Linked DNA regions of Homo sapiens: all the other regions are linked to region 2. The links are contacts of gene promoters, found by promoter capture Hi-C in human tissues and cell types (Jung and others, 2019). All regions are on one chromosome and are shown on one strand. The core of a region is centred on a gene start or on the middle of the fragment in contact, and the rest is flanking DNA. Distances in the headings are between cores, read along the strand shown.

Region 1 (3,708 bases), core at 409-2,908, 370 kb before region 2:
TTTTGTAAATTAATCACAGAAGTGACATCCTTGTCAAATTGCTATATTCTGTTGGTTAGAAGCAAGTCGTTGAAGGAGAGGGGGTTCTAAAAGGCCCTGGGTAGCAGGAGGTGGGAGTCTCTGGGAACCACATTGGAGACTGCCACAACTATCTCTATCCAGTTGACTTGTCAGCATCTATATTTGAATGCCCTGCAGACATTTCACACTCACCATGCCCAAAACTACACTCATATTTAGCATATTCTCTCTTACCCCAAATTTGTTTCTTCTTCAGTGTTTCCTATTTCAATAATTGGTACTATACCCTCAAAACCTGGGAGTCCTCCTGCCTTCCCTCCCCATTATGCCTCACCTTTAGTCATCTAGTACTGTCAATTTTACGTAATATTTATGTCATCCACCTACTTCTGTATATTCCCACTGCTAACCTCCATTCAACCCATTACCATTTGCCACCTCCACCATGAGGTCCTCCGCCACTAGGGCTCCTGGCTTTTTTCCCCCTATTCATATCAGACCAAAGGGATTATTTTAAACATACAACTTCAATCATCTAAAACTACTTGACCAAATGTTCTTTGTGTTCCATGAACACATCCCTTGCTCCCACCTGATGTCAGTGCAGCTGTAGCGCACAGCTCTATGCCCATGCCAGCACCCCATCCCAAGTGCATGTGGGAGACTTTCAACCAAGGTGCATTCTGTCCAGCTCCTTAAAAGGTCCCCAGCCTGCCTGAGCCAGTTGCCAACCCTGTTATTGGCTTACTCATACACCCATTATTGGGTTCCCTACCTCTCTTTTCTCAGTCTCCTGCTCCTTGCCCTGGCTTCCTGGAATCACCTCCCAAATAAACTACCTGCACCCAAGTTCTTGCCCAGGCCCTGCTTTTGGAGGAATCCAAACCAAGACAGCTTCCAATGTCTTCCTGGCAGTTTTAGGATGAAGCCCCAAATGTTTATGTGACCTACAAATTGCTGCATCATTTGGCTGAGCCACTGCTCCCGTCAGGTTCACTTTTATAGGCCCTTTTCCTTTCTTCACAGCACTTGGTACAGAAAATTATTTTCTACCTTCCTGCCATGATGTCAGTTTCATGAGGGATGTCTTTCTCATCATTGTCTCTCCAGTGCCTGACAAGGCACCTACTGTACTACATAGCAGGGGCTAAATAATATTTCGGGCATGAATAAAGGATTTGATCACTCTACCGGGAGACAGTGTGACAAGGACAGAGTGAGCTGGAGAGATGGGAAGTTTGTTATTGGCCAGCAGTAAGACCTCGGGAAAGTCGTGTACCTTCTCTGTTTCTGTTTCCTCAGCTGTCCTATCTGTTTCACAGGACTGCTATAAGACAAATGAGACAATGTGATTGAAATGCACTGAAAAATATAACCTTGAAAGTTGAATTTCTGATTAACTCTGGAGTTTTCTTTTCTCCATTGAGGCTCTAGACCAGGGGTTGGCAAACTTTCTCTATGAAGGGCCAGGCTGTAAATATTTTAAGCTTCACAGGCCATATGGTCTCTTGCAACTACTCAGTTCTGCTGTTGTAGTTTGAAAGCAGCCACAGGCAGTATATAAATGAATGAGTATGGTTGTGTTCCAATAAAATTTCACTTATAGAAACTGGAATTTGAATTGCACAAAATTTTCACATTGTGAAATATTATTCTTCTTTTGACTTGTCCCCCAATTTAAAAAGGTAAATGCCATTCTTAGCTCGTGGGCTGTACAGAAACAGATGGTGGTGAGGTTTTGGCCCATGGGTCATAGTTTGCTGACTCCTGCACTAGAGGGTCTAGAACTCTGCTGTCTAGTATGATAGCAAGTAACCATATGTGGCATTTAAATTTAAATTTAATTAAAATTAAAATTCAGTTCCCACATTGTGCTAGCCACATGCCAAAGTGCTCGGTAGCCACATGTGTCTAGTGGCTACCATCCTGGACAGCACAGAGCAGTTTCACCAATATAGAAAGTTCTGCTGGACAGCTCTGGTCTAAATAGAATAAGCCTGAGCAATTTCCTTCCAGAGCAAGGTTAGTTAGTTAGTATAGAGTAAGACAGCAGTCCAGGCCTCTTTGGACTGCACCACACCACTGCTACTGGCAAAATTTGTGACTTAGGATTATTGCACTGCTGTTTGAAAATAAGTGCTGGTTTGGGATAGTATAATACTGGGTAGAAATTTAAACCCACTTTAAGTACTGTTAATTAGGATCAGAATGGAAGCATTTTTCTAAAAGCAAAGTTTAACCTATTACTGAGAATAAGTGTGCTGTTTGTTTCTTTCTTCTCTTCTAGAATGAAAAGAAAATTTTATTCCTGGGAGGAATGCATGAACCTTCGGGAGGTTAAGGTATATATTAATATACCAAGGAATAATTTATGGATGATTAAAATAGCTTTGTACATGCTTAGATTTATAGTTGATATAGTCATTTCATTTGAATTTTTTCACTAATGCTGGAAAGGGAGGCAAATGATAACATTACAGCTGAAGCAGAAGATTATGGTATAATTGTATATACTGTTATTAGAAAGCTTTCATCTTTAATGGATCACTTATATCAATATATTTCAATATAAAGAAGTTGAATGTGTTGATTTAGTGAATTATTATTGCCTATTTTCTTAATTATTAACGTAAAGGAAAATCACTTGTTGAGTGTTTTTCCTAGACATAATAGCAGTACTTACTTCAGTTTCTTGCTCTAATAATTTGCACTCCACTTTCTGTGAGGAAATTCATTGACCCCCACACCCTTGCGCTTGTTGAGCCTCACACAGACTTACCAGCACTGGGCCACAGCCTAACCCTGAACACAGAGGGGAGGGAAGGCAGAAGCGGGTAGAAAGGAGGCACCTTACAAGATTCCTCATCCGTTCCTCCTTGCTGAGGTCCTTCTTTTGTGCCATGTCAAGCATTGTGGAGCACCGATCTTTACTTTTATTCAGCCTTCTGACTGGATTCATTATTCTCCTCCTTTCCCCCTGCCCCTGGGATTCATTATTCTCCTCCTTTCCCCCTGCCCCTTCTTCTATTGATTTTGTTCCAATTTTTCTCTCTGTCAGAGTAGATTGATCACATTGAGTTTTACATGCATAATTCTCTTCCTTGTGCAGTGGAGTGGTGCTTCATCTAATTTTAGTCCTCTCACCCAGCCCTGTTTGAAACACCTAATAGAATACTGAAAAACACCCTTTCTTTTTCTCCAAAGGGGTCCTGTACATGGAAGTGAGGTTACAAGTCTAAAGCAGGGATCAGCAAACGTTTTCTGTAAAGGGCCAGATAGTCAGTCTTTTATGCTTCTAGGACTAAAAGGTCATATTGAAGATGTTATATAGATACATGTGTAACAAGAGCAAAAACAAATTTCCATAAAATTTTTATTTATAAAATATAAAATGTAATAATAATTTAGTATAATTTTCTGTATTAGAGGTCTTCCAGTGAGAAGAATGATATTCTTTTTGAGGGGACATAATATTTAACTTAATTGGAGTTCAAAGTTAGTGTTCCCTGTCATCAAACTGATTGCAACCGTTCATTTATAAAAGTATTCTTTTTTATCTTTTTTGGGCTGGGTGTGGTGGCTCACACCTGTAATCCCAGCACTTTGGGAGGCTGAGGCTGGTGGATCACTTGAGGTCAGGAGTTCGAGACCAGCCTGGCCAACATGGTGAAAGCCCTTCTCTACTAA
Region 2 (3,458 bases), core at 295-2,794:
ACTCACCCCTAGGTATCTGGCTTAGACCATTAGGAGAAGTAGGGAGTCGGGGAGCCTCATGCTATTCCCTGAGACAGAGAACATGGGAACAGCAGCAGGTGTGTGGCGGTGGGAAGAGGGAGGTGGCTAGGAATGATGGGACCTGTTTAGAATGTATTCAGTCTGAGACGCCCAACACACAGTCCGGAAAACACCCTTACATACAGATCTGAAGCTTATGAGAGTTCTTTCATTATCAGGTGTAACTTCTAGACCTAATTTTCTCCTAAAGCTAAGTAGCTGTTGTGAAAGATTAATTCCACTCCATCCTGAGCCCCCCAGCTCTTCCTGCGATCTTCTCTTGAGGACCCATACCCTTTTACTTGGTTGGGATTCTCTCAACTCTCAGCCAGCCAAGCTCCTTGAGGGCAAACCAAGGTTCAGTTTATCTTTGTCCTCCTCACAGCACCAAGAACCCTGCCATGCACAAGGCAGGTACTTAAAATACTTGTTAAATGAATAAATGAGTGAGTGAACCAAAGGAACAGCTTCTGCCTGAAGACATTCTGTAACTGACCTACCCAATACAGCTTTATTGCCAGGAAACAGGTAGCCCCTTAATCTCCTTAGCGAACTGACTGTTGTTCTAAAGAGGCAAAATAAATCTACTCCCAATGCTTGCAAGAAGATTCTGTTCTCACAGAGAATATTCAGACAAAAGAATCACCTATTCCATGACGGAGCCATGTGGCCAGGCCAGAAGCACACATTAAAGCCAGAGGCTGTGTTAACATGGAAGGGATAAGGTGGGAGAGGATGTGCACAGCACATCACACGCTCTCATCACAAATGTGATGCTCAAGCCTTGGAAGGACTAAAACGCATCTTGGATGCAATGCAGCAAAACGATTTACCATACCAGGTACAAAACAAGGTGACAGGGGACAGCCTCGCTGCCCGCCCCAAATCCTCCAAAATTCGGAGAATTAAGAGATTTTCGGTGAACTGTTACATAAAAAGCATTTTCACATGCTAAAGATATAACAATTACCTACCCTTGAGCTCTTGGAGGGCACAAAAGGCACATTTTCGAGTGGGGTCTGGGTGGTGCTGAGAAGGTTAAAATCCTGCCAAGCATTTTGCAATGGTCCATGAGCCCACCCCACCACCCCAGATCCAGGAAGGTAGGAGGCAGGATAGGTGGGATATTTAGGGATACCAGAAGGCAGAAACTCGGGAGGAGGAGAAAAATGATACCGCGGAGGTAAGACCGATGCCCTGCAAAATCCCCTCAAGGTCCTCTGCATCATCGTTTGCTGTACAGGTTTGGCGCGGGGGAGGGGATGCCCGCTAAGCAACGCCCCTTATATTTCTGCAGTTTTGTAAGAAAATTCAGAGCAGGAAGGTCTCCATTGCGGGATGCACAGCTCACCTGCAGCCCCGAGCCTTCACTGCAGCTGAAAAGACAGAAGTCTGGGGCCAGCTGCCGCCAAGCGCGGTACCTGGAGTCCGGAAGCAGTCTCCGCACCAGCGCTGTCCCACTCGGCGCCCAGCCGTCTCGCGCTGAGCAAAGGCCGCTCCCTCCTGGAAACGCCCTCCCTGCCGCGCGCATGCGCTGTGTCCCTTCTCGCCTTGCAGGACTCCACCCGGTCCATGCCCTCCGGCTGAATCCGGGCGGCCTGTAGGCCAGGCAGCCAGGAGGCCCTGTGCTGCAACATCCCGGCGGCAGCCGGACCCGTTGCTCCGTCTATCCTGCCTTCGGCCCTGTCCTGGAGCCAGGGCTGGGGTTTGCTGCCTCCCGCCTGACGGAGCAGGACTGGCAGGAAGCGTGTTTGCAAGAAGCCAAAATTACAGAAGGCGAAGATTTTTAAATTAACTCCATTCATCTTTCAAGGGACATTTCCAGAACCTCCAAAAGGCAACCCGAGGTCTTCTACACACCCTCCAGCAGACTGTCCCCACTGTCAGTGGAGGGAGCTAAGGTTCAGTGAGGTCAAGTGACTTAGTTGTCCCAGGTCAAAATCCAAGTTTGCCTGGTGTCAAAGCCCAAGCACCCTTCATTACACTATGGGATCATCTAGATGTGGTTGGGAGACGAGGATCCTAGTTTTAAACTTCAGGCCCAGGATTTGCTGGGTTTAGATATCTACTGGGAAAGGTATAGAATTCCAGAGTTGGAAAGCACTTAAAACCTTGCCTAATGCAAGGCAATCCGCTCAATCCCAGGAACGAAACTTAAACTGACCTTATTTTTTTTTTAAATACAGGATCTCAGTCGGTCGCCCAGGCTGGAGTGCAGTGGCACCATCCCGTCTCACTGCAACCTCTGCCTCCTGCCTCCTGGGTTCAAGCGATTCTCCAGCCTCAACCTCCCAAGTAGCTGGGATTACAGGTGTGTGCCACCTCACCCGACTATTTTTTTTTTGTAGAGACGGGGTTTCACTGTGTTGCCCAGGATGGTCTTGAATTCCTGAGCTCAAAGCAATCCTCCCGCCTCTGCCTCCCAAAGTGCTGGGATTACAGTTTAAATTGACTTTAAATTATGCCTCCCTGTAGCAACTTATCATCTCAATCTTCTGCCTTCTTGATTGAATACAGAACTCCGACCCTCTTCCTTATGTAACAGCCCTTTGGAGATTTGAAGAAGGTTGTCATAGTGAAGTAGCTCTAGAGGTTCTGTGTCACTGAGAATTACAGCGGAATTCCTCAGAATAAAAAAGGAAACTCAAAAATTAAATCTTGTGAAGTTTGTTTGCTACATCTATTCTTTGTGCATAAAAGTGCTTCAGGGAAGTAATATAACTACATCTAACTTATGAAAGTCTAAGTTGGTCCTGGGGAATTAATAAAATTCCTGAAGATTCACAGAAGAGTTGATGGCAAGGCACTGGAATGTGGCGTGGAGAAAGTGATAGCCTGAAATTTGGTTCTGAGTTCTCTCAGCCCTCCTTTCCATCCCCTTCTATGCCCATCCTTACCCCAGCCTCCTCACCTTCTCTCCTCACACTCTCAGAACACTTACCCTATTTGGAATAAAACTAAAATCCTCTTGGAATACTTCATTATCTTCATCTGATGTGACCTGGGTAAATAACTCCCCTCTGGACCTCAGTGCCTGGATTTAAGATATGGACAAGACTAGATGCTCTGAGATCCCTTACACCCTATCACCAACATACTCGAAGCTGGAAACAGCCTCATGATATTCCTACTCAAGGCGTATCACCTAAAACTAAAGAAAAACTCTTTGAATATTATGGGAATTCCATACCCTTGAATATGTGGGAACAGGATGGTTCTTAGGCAAAGGGACCACTGCCCTCTCAACTCATAGGCACCAGCTGCTGCCTTCTCCAGCTAATGGAAAGGCTGCAGCCCAAGGTAAGGATGCAGGAAAGCCTATTCCCCTCAACTGTTTTGTAAAGCTTTCTATGCATGATCCACAGCAGAGACTCTTAACTTTCAATGTGTCACCAACC
Region 3 (3,835 bases), core at 757-3,256, 260 kb before region 2:
AAATTTTGACTTTCATGTTTATCTTTTTCACACTTTCCATTTCCACTCTTCAGTGTGTACTCTTAAATTCTCTTTCCACAGCCTCTTCCATTGTTAATGAAACAATAAGCCTCATGGCCACGGTTTTTGAGGGCCTGATCTGTGCCTAGGTTTGCACTAAGCAGATTTTACCTCTTACTTAATCTTCACAAGTACCTTATAAGTAGGTCCCAAAGATGTTAAGTAACTTTCCACAATCATAGATCCAGTATGTGCTTGAAAGACAGTTTGAGCACAGGCCGTCCTGACTCCAGGTGCCTCTTGTCAATTACTCTAGCAGAGGAAGGTCAGGGAAGGATCTGCATTGTTACTAGACTGTGCATAACAAAGATGCCAGTACAAATGGGAGGGGGGATGTGGAGAATTCTCAAGTGTTACTTAAGCCATGTTACCTGTTCATAGAGCTGTAATGTACACTTAAAAGTAGTTGCTATTTCCCAGAATTCTAAATGCCCCCATTTCCCTTTACAATTGCAAAAGAATCCAATAATCTAGTTAATTACATTTTCTTTTCAGGTCTTTGTGGATGAATTTAAAACTATAATTTAGTTACATTTCTTCTTCTCAGAAGGCATCATAGAGAGTACCTCTGTGTAGTGATAAAGTGCCCTGTGAAGTGTAAAACATACAGACAGGGGAGCCCCAGGACTGGAAGGGAAGCCAGAGCTCATCAAATCAGGTGATACCCTGGAGACACAGTGGAGATACCTCTGGTGAAGGGGGGTGCAACCCTCAGCCTCTTCTGGGAATGAAATTGCAAAGCCTCTTCAAGTAAATTTTCATGAGCTATTTCCAAAATCATCTCCAGTTTAATCAGGGCATCCACATCAAAAAAGACAAAAAGATGTCCTTGAAGGGTCTGGTTTATCTGTAGACTCTAAGGACAGACATTGATGCCCACAAATGAAATGAGTTCAACCAAAATGAAAAACCAGAGGCTGCTTTCTGACTCTTTCTTCGACATGTACTTGTGTGCGTGTGTGTGTGTGTGTCTGTTAATCAAGTGATGGATTAGACACAATGCCTGGCACACAGCAGACCTTCAATAAATTGCAGTTCTTCCCCTTTCTTTCCAAACCTAGAAAGGAGGAGCAGAGACTTTTACTGGCAGGCCGGAAGACTGTATCTGCCTCTGAGCCATCAAATAGGACGTCGAAGTCCTTCAAATCAGGAACAGAGGTACATTCAATAGAAGCCTCATTGCTGGTCCTGGGCAGGAAAGCCTCCCTCCTCCTGAATATGTGCTCAGGCCTGGTCCAGTTGGGATTTGCTTCTTACCAGCCCCTCCATGTCTGGTCCCACAGTTCAGTCCTGCTGCTTGTACTTCACCAAGAATTAAGCTTTGAAAAGTGGAATTGTGGGGAAAGAGTTCCTTTACTCTGGAGAAGGAGAGGCAGAGTGAGAGCCTCTCCATCCTTTAACACAAATGCCTACAAGTAAATAAACACTCTGAAGCCTCATGGGTAGTTTAACCACGATTGGAAATTTTAAAACATTTCAGCCAATAGAAAAGAGATAACACTCCCAGGTCAACAATTCTGGTCAAAGGTACCATTGTATGCCTTTTGCGAAGTAAAACAGTACGAACCACAGTTGAACTATATCAGCAACAAAAAATCACAGGCATTCTGCAGGCCTTTGTGTCTGAAGCACTGATGGCTGTGATTTCTCAGCTGCTGTCCATAAGCGCCTTCTGTCCCCCACCTGGTGTGGAGGGCTTCACCTGCAGAGAGCGCTTGTGTCTGAACCGCCCATTTGGCTTACATTGTTTACACTCATTACTCACAGTGTGGCCCTGGACCAGCAGCATGGGCAGCACCTGGGAACTTGTTAGAAATGCAGTTTCAGGTCCCACCCCAGCCTTACTGAATCAGCATCTGCATTTTGGCAAGATCCCCAGGTGACTTGTGTACCCATTAAAGTTTGCAACACTGCCTTGTGTTATCATTCATCTTTCCAAACACAGTCTCGGGTTCTCTCCAGATGTGAGAATGTTCTATGATCTTGCATCCCCTGTTTGCTCTCTGTACGTAAGGATCCTTACCCCCCATCTCTGTCTGCTTCAGATTTGAGACCCTCACTCACTTCCGGGAATGGTGTCTTTTGTTCATGTTCTCTTCAAGCCCAAGATCACAATTTGCTTCTTCCCTTTTACTCTGGGGGAGAGGCATATGATATAACAAAAAAAGCATGGACTTTGACACTGGAAAGATGTGGGATCTGGCTCTTTCACTTACCAGATGGATGACTAAGCAAGTTTTTATCTGTGTGACCCTCATTTCTAAAATGAAGACATTAGTACTCTCCACATTGTATAGATATTGCCTGGCACATGACTCATCTGCTTGCTCAGCCTTCCTGGCTACATGGCTGGCCCTTGGCCATCTCTTGATAATCAGATCTTGAGCAGCCCTGGCAGGGATGGCCTTGTTATCCTTGGGCCCATACCCCTCTCCATTAGTGGCTCCAGAGAACTGGATGTGAACAGCACTTCTTCCTGGTCTGCCATGAATTCAGCTCTGATTTGGGCAGTTCCCAGTTTGCAAATTTAGGATGAGATCTTTTACTCAAATTGTTTCCAAACAAAATATGGTTATTATTTTTGCAATTATAGCAACCTTTTGTTTGAGAGGATACGGTACATTTTTATCACCATTCAAAAAGTTACAGTTTTGGTGGTATAAAAATTCATTTTTAATTAAAACATGTTTGGGGTACTATGAATTATATTCATTCTACAAAGAGCGGGTACTTTTGTTTTTTCCTTCTTGCATTTTACTTGTTTTCTTTGCTTCTTTTAAAGACACTGTTCCTGGCTAGGCACGATGGCTCACACCTGTAATCCCAGAATTTTGAGAGGCCAAGGTTGGAGGATCAATCAAGATCAGGAATTCAAGACCAGCCTGGCCAACATAGTGAAACCTCGTCTCTACTAAAAATACAAAAATTAGCCAAGAGTGATGGTGGGCACCCATAATCCCAGCAACTTGGGAGGCTGAGGCAGGAGAATCGCTTGAACTCGGGAGGTAGAGGTTGCAGTGAGCCGAGATCACACCAACCTTGGTGACAGAGTGAGACTCTATCTCAAAATAAATAAATTTTAAAAAATAATAAAAAAACAAAAACACTGTTTCTGATGCCATTAGAGGTCAGCAGAAGCAAAGAAGACACATTCTAATCAATTTTTCCCCCCTTTGGTAACTCAGTGGGAGGGAAAGTTGAATTTTTCTGGAGTATCTTATTTTTTCCAAATGGTGAAAAAAAAAAGCTGAAACTGATTTATACATCAAATCTTCGTTCTAACTAGGTATATTATACAAGCTACATATTTGATAATAGTTGAATAGTAAAAACGTTAAAGAAGTGAAGTGTCCATTTTGAAGTATGGTTTTTTAAAGGTTTCATTTGATTTTTTTTTTTTCGAGAAGTTTTTGCTCTTGTTGCCCAGGCTGGAGTGCAGTGATGCGATCTCGGCTCACTGCAACCTCTGCTTCCTGGGTTCAAGTGATTCTCCTGCCTCAGCCTCCCAAGTAGCTGGGACTACATGTGCCTGCCACCATGCCCAGATAATTTTTGTATTTTTAGTAGAGACAGGGGTTTCACCATGTTGGGTAGGATGGTCTTGATCTCCCGACCTCATGATCCACACACCTTGGCCTCCCAAAGTGCTGGGATTACAGGCATGAGCCACTGCACCTGGCCTTCATTTGATTTTAAAATTGAATTATCAGCAAGTCCCAGTACCAACCGCTAATGCTGCACATACAGTTTAGAGGTCAAGGTTCCAGTTAAAGAA

Evidence for each region. Contacts are between HindIII fragments. The study calls those that stand out against the background at their distance.
Region 1: a contact is called between a fragment that was not itself captured here and the fragment with the promoter of TMEM14A in region 2, in 3 of the 25 tissues and cell types used here (dorsolateral prefrontal cortex, hippocampus and mesenchymal stem cells).
Region 3: a contact is called between a fragment that was not itself captured here and the fragment with the promoter of TMEM14A in region 2, in 2 of the 25 tissues and cell types used here (H1 embryonic stem cells and mesendoderm cells).

The regions. Positions count from the first base shown.
Region 1 is chr6:53,036,594-53,040,301 of GRCh38, reverse strand. CILK1 (ciliogenesis associated kinase 1) reads left to right here. Exons shown (of 14, transcript NM_014920.5): 3 at 2,309-2,363. Among named protein-coding and RNA genes, the nearest start is that of CILK1, 23 kb to the left of the region's middle. The HindIII fragment of the contact is 4,968 bases long and covers 1-3,708 here.
Region 2 is chr6:52,669,199-52,672,656 of GRCh38, reverse strand. TMEM14A (transmembrane protein 14A) reads right to left here and starts at 1,544. Exons shown (of 5, transcript NM_014051.4): 1 at 1,412-1,544. RefSeq lists enhancers at 1,680-1,839, 1,828-2,328. The HindIII fragment of the contact is 4,412 bases long and covers 1-3,458 here.
Region 3 is chr6:52,928,010-52,931,844 of GRCh38, reverse strand. No RefSeq gene overlaps it. Among named protein-coding and RNA genes, the nearest start is that of GSTA3, 20 kb to the right of the region's middle. RefSeq lists a silencer at 180-474. The HindIII fragment of the contact is 8,249 bases long and covers 1-3,835 here.